2 separate regions of the Homo sapiens genome follow, and region 1 is linked to region 2. The links are contacts of gene promoters, found by promoter capture Hi-C in blood cells and fetal thymus (Javierre and others, 2016). All regions are on one chromosome and are shown on one strand. Each heading gives the region's core, a stretch centred on a gene start or on the middle of the fragment in contact. The rest is flanking DNA. Distances are from core to core; before and after follow the strand shown. Region 1 has its middle 8.2 kb from the start of RCAN1. Region 2 holds the start of KCNE1 (potassium voltage-gated channel subfamily E regulatory subunit 1).

Evidence for each region. Contacts are between HindIII fragments. The CHiCAGO score rates a contact against its expected background, and 5 or more counts as called.
Region 1: a contact is called between a fragment that was not itself captured here and the fragment with the promoter of KCNE1 in region 2, in 1 of 17 cell types (neutrophils). The highest score is 5.3, in neutrophils.

The regions. Positions count from the first base shown.
Region 1 is chr21:34,621,915-34,624,614 of GRCh38, forward strand. No RefSeq gene overlaps it. Among named protein-coding and RNA genes, the nearest start is that of RCAN1, 8.2 kb to the left of the region's middle. The HindIII fragment of the contact is 1,169 bases long and covers 693-1,861 here.
Region 2 is chr21:34,510,783-34,513,482 of GRCh38, forward strand. KCNE1 (potassium voltage-gated channel subfamily E regulatory subunit 1) reads right to left here and starts at 1,428. Exons shown (of 4, transcript NM_000219.6): 1 at 1,245-1,428; 2 at 319-533. The HindIII fragment of the contact is 14,180 bases long and covers 1-2,700 here.

The DNA of each region.
Region 1 (2,700 bases), core at 27-2,526, 110 kb after region 2:
GGACAATACATAAAATAAGTAAATACAACATGTAGATGTTGATGATATGCATGGTGAAGTACAAAGGAACAAAAAAATAAAGCAAAGAAAAGGAACTGGAAATAGGGAGGAGGGAGGATTTCAGCTCTAGCAACCAGGGAAGACTGAAGAAGGGGGAGAATGCCATGGCTACTTCTGGAAAACAGCACTCCAGGCAGAGGAGAAAGTGCAAAGTCCTGGGGGCAGCAGCTGCTCATCTTGTTGAAGCAACACTGCAAAGGCTGTGATAGGTTTCTTCTGGGGCTGGGTGAGTGATCAAGGGGGTGAGTAGTGTAAAGTTCAGAAAAGTGATAGGGTCAGATCATATAGAACTTTGTAGGTCACAGGAAGGAGTTTGGGTTTCATCCTCATTGAGACAGGGAGCTGGTGGAGGCTTGAGCAGAAAGTAGCTAACCTGATCTTTCTTACAACTACTAGGAGGACTCACTTGGGAGCTGTGTGCACAGAACACTGTGTGGGGACAAGTGTGGAAACCAGAGACCTCTCAGGAGGCTGTTGCCATCATCCCAGTGGGAAAAGGTGGGAACTTGGGTCTGGATGGAAGACCCAAAGTGGTAAGAAAATGGTAAGATTCTTTCTATATTTTGAAGGCTCAGACAACAGGATTTCCTCAGGGTATTAGTTCCTTATGGATGCGATAATAAATTACCATAAGCTTAGTGGCTAAAACAATACAAATGTATGGTTCTGGGGGGCATAAGTCTAAAATGGGGAAACGGGGTCAGCAGAACTGTGTTCCTTCTGTGGGCTCTGAGGAGAATCGCTATTTTTTTTTTCTTTCTGAGACAGAGTCTCTCTCTGTTGCCCAGTCTGGAGTGCAGTGGCATGATCTCTGCTCACTACAACCTCCGCCTCCCAGATTCAAGCAATTCTTCTGCTTTAGCCTCCCAAGTATCTGGAATTGCAGGCGCACACCACCATGCCCAGCTAATTTTTTATTTGTACTTTTAGTAGAGACGGGGTTTCGCCATGTTGGCCAGGCTGGTCTTGAACTCCTGACCTCCGGAGATCCATCTGCCTCAGCCTCCCAAAGTGCTGGGATTACAGGCGTGAGCCACCGTGCCCGGCCTATCTGCCATATTTAGAGAAAAGGAGGCATCAAGACTGACTCCAAGGCTACAGGAAGAAGCTGCCTCTAACCTGGATAAGGTAGACTGTGAGAGGGACAGGTTGGGGAACAGCTATCCTTAGCTTACTTTGGAGCAATTCAGGATTGAGAGACCCCTTAGAGGTGACAGTGGGGGGACAGGGCTCTAGATGGCATCTAAAGCCACTGGGCCACTGAGATCCCCTAGGGAGTGAGTGTAGCTGTTGACAAGAGAGTCTGGGGTCTGGACCAGGGGCACAGTGACACTCAGACACCAGCCAGCAGTGGTGCCTGAGAAGGGGGGTCAGAGAGGCTCAAGAGCCACCAGGCAGGTGGGGTATTCTGGAAGCCAACAACAGAAAGGGCTTCCCAGAGGAGGGAACCAGCGCTGCTGAAAGTCAGCTTGGGAAGAGCCCTCTGTGACTAGCGCTGCTGAGAGGTCAGCTTTGTGGGGACAGGGAACTGAGTTTGGATTTCCAAGTTTGGCAGTCCTTTTTGACCTTGGCAAGATAAATTTTGGAGAATTATTTAGAAGTAAAAGCCCAATTGGGAGCAGAAAAATGGAAGATAATGAGTGTAAGCAACTCTCTCAAGAAGTTGTGCTGTGAGGAGAACTGAGAAGTGAAATAGTACATGGAAGAGGAAGTGGGAGTGAGGGGAGGGTTTCGTTTGGTTGAAGATGGGAGAAGCCACCCCAGGCCTGTCTGCAGGTTGGGATGATCCAGGAGAGAGGAAAGCTTGATGACCGGGGCTGGGAGGGGGAGAGAATTTCTGCAGCCATCTCTATGGGAAAGAGAGAGCACCTGGTACATGAACAGAGAGGCGGGTCCCAGGTGGCAAAGCAAATCTGTCCATCGACACTGAAGGAAAGCAGCATGTACCACGGATACCCTGGGCATCAGTGCATGGGACGATGAAATATTGGGGCAGGGCTGGTGAAAGCCACTTGTGTTCATCTCCATCTTCTCAGTAAAAGAGGAGTCTGAGTGTGAGGATGAGGAAGGTGGCATTGAGTGTTGAAGGCAAGAGAAGAAAATGTGAAGTGATCTTCTAGGAATGTGGGAGAACAAATGGACTAGAAAAATATAGGAGGATTATATATGCACACCAATGTCATATGAGTATCAATGTCATATGAGTATCAAATATGTATACAACATGCAAATATATGTATATATATTAATGTTTACATGCAATTACGATATATACATATGTTAGTAGATATAAGCAAATATATTTATATGTCTTATGTATAATATGACACATGCTGCAACATAATTATAATCTATAGTATCTAATATGTACTAGATGGTATATGAATATATGTTCATACATCATACATGAATATAGCAATATAGGCAGATAAGATATGTTACAATGTATTATTAAATTGTGTATATTATATGATGTGCAATAAAAACACAAGTATTTATGACTTATCTGTCTCCTCCACTCTATCCAAAATATATGTAATGCACGTTATAAAACATAAAGAGAAATAGGAATTTTTAAAGTATAAGAATAGAGAAATAAACACAAATATAAATATGTCTTGAGCTGTCATCCTCATTTCA
Region 2 (2,700 bases), core at 178-2,677:
GATCACCTTCCTTGATTCCAGCTCTCTCAGGCTGTCAGGACCTGGCGCTGGGAGGCACTAGGCCATGCCCTGGCCTGAGGCCTTCTCTCTCCCTCTTTGCCCTGTGTCTCTGCAGGGAAGCCCGGCCCTGCCCCTGGGAGGGTGGGGGCAGACGTGTGGAGAGTGGGTGTACAAGGCCAGGGTTTGCCAGGCCCAGGACAGCCTGGCACCTGTCAATGGATGAGCGCCTCTCCCTTAGCCTGATGTCAGGGTGGGCATGAGGGTGGGAGCAGAGGGTGCCTAACTGAGGAAAGGGTCTGTGCAACCCCCTTCTCCTACCAGTTCTCGTTTCTGAAGTCTCCTCAAGCACACTGCGGTGTCCACACCATTGGCAGCAGGCTCCTTCTCTTCAGGTGGTCTTAGGAACTTCTCAGAACTTTTTGAGTTATCCTTCTGGTCTCTTCCTCCTGAGCACGGTTCTCCTGGTTGAGCTCCAGGCCATGCCATTCAACGCCCTCCAGGACAGGCCGAAGGGCTTGTCTGTTTGGTGGTTGCTAAGGTTTGAAAAAAGCCAGCTGGAAACTTAATCCCCAAAGCAACAGTGTTGGGAGGTGGGACCTAATGGGAGGTGTTTAGTCATGAGGGCTCCACCCTTATGAATGGATTCTCTCTCTCTTGTTCTCTCTCTCTCTCTTCCCGCCCCGCCCACCCCTCCTTCCCCAACCTTGTGATACCTTCCACCATGTCATGGCAAGAAGGCCCTTGCCAGATGTGGCCCCTCCATCCTGGGTTCCCAGTCTCCAGAACCATGAGCCAAATGCATTTCTGTCTGTTACAAATTATGTACGGTGTGGTTTTCTGTGATGAACACAGTGCTGTACCAGGGCCCTCTTGCCAAGACAGCCAGCTTATAGGAGCCTGCATGTGAGGCCCGGACGTCCTACAGAGCAGCAGTTAGAGGTCTGGCCTTCTGGATAGGCACTGCCCTGCCCTGCACACAGGACCTTGGTGGGGCATGATGGGGCTCTTCACCACGCTGCCCTCATTTTAGGAGGTGGGCAACCCTTTCTCCCCCTTCTCCATGTGCTTCTGCAGTTGGAAGAAGTGAGGGGGGTTCAGACACACTTAAGCTGAGCTTAGAGCAAAGCATGTCCCTCAAGGTGACCTTGCCGCATGGCCTGAACCTAGAATTCCCCTGACCAGGGTGGACAGCCATCACCATGGGCCTTTCTGCCTGGCCTAGTATGGCTCTCCTTCGAACTCACCTAGACCCTTGCATCAAAGGACTCGGGGACTCTGCTGCAGTCATCCTAGCACGGTCGAGAGGAGTAGGAAGGTGCCCAGCGGCTCAGCCTTTAAGGAGGTCTATTGGTCACCATTGCTTCTGCCTTCTTGAGAACCATCACCCTCGGAGGATCCGGTAGTGTATCCCAGTCAAGTGTCAAATGCGTTGTTCCCTGGAGAGGAAGGCTTATTTCCAGAAAGTACTCTGACGTTTTGTAATTTGTGATTTCTATCACTGGCTCAGTGGCCTACCCACTGCTCAGCTCATGTGGCATGACCAGGCTGGGGCGTCGGGTCATCTTGTTCTCTGGGTGTGTGGCAACACTGGTTTATGGCGTAATTTCCTTCCTGAGAAGAAATTCAGTAATTTCTAATATTCAGGGCTTTAGGTAGAGGCCTGAAAATCACTCTCCATGCCTCTTTCAGTATTTTATATATAGTTGTCTCTTGGTATCCATGGGGTTTGGTTCCAGAATCCCCTGCAGATACCAAAATTTGCGAATGTTCAAGTCCTTTATATATAGTGGCATAGTATTTGCATATAACCTATGCATATCAGCCAATCATAGATGGTGATTTAAATCATCTCTTGATTACTTCTAACACCTAATACTATGTAAATGCTTTGTAAGTAGTTGTTACCTGGCATTTTTTTATTTGTTTTATTTTTGTTGTTGTTTCATTAATTTTATTTTATTTTTGGAATATTTTCAGTCCATTGTTGGTTGAATCCACAGATGCAGAAGCCTTAGACACAGAGGGCCGACCACACCTATGTATGCTGTTCTTAAAGTAGCAACATATTTGTTCTGAACATAGAAGAAATTAGTCGTCTATTAGACTTTAAGGGAGTAAATATGGTCCAAGTTGATTTTTAAATTTAGCAAATAGTCATAGACATATCAGTGTCTTACAGAAAATATTTATTGGAATGCTCACTCTCTCATTTGGGATACTGCTTTGCCTTGCTGTGTCTTAAGAATGTCATCAGAGCATCACACACTTGAAAAACGTTTTTAAAAGGATATGATGATAATTAAGACCTTCTCCCCAACCCCTGCCCATTATCCAAGATCAATGTTTTTTTCCTTTATCCTGATTTTAAAATCAAGTACACTTTATTGAGGCATACTTTACATGAAGCAAAATGTACCCTTTCTAAATATGATAAGTTTGATGAGTTTTCAACAGATGTATACAGCTGTTACCATGACTGTGTCTTTACCCAGGTTCTTGCATTGCTCAATCCAGATACAGAATGTCTCCATCACCCTGACAAGTTCCTTTGTGCCGCACCCTCTAGCCAATCATCTGTTTTGAGGAGAGTTTTAAAACAAAGGTTTTTGTTCTTTTTCACTGATGACCATAACCTACCACAGACAGGGTCTCTCTCTCTCTCTCTCTCTCTTTTTCCCTGTTCTTGCGCCAGCTGCCTGA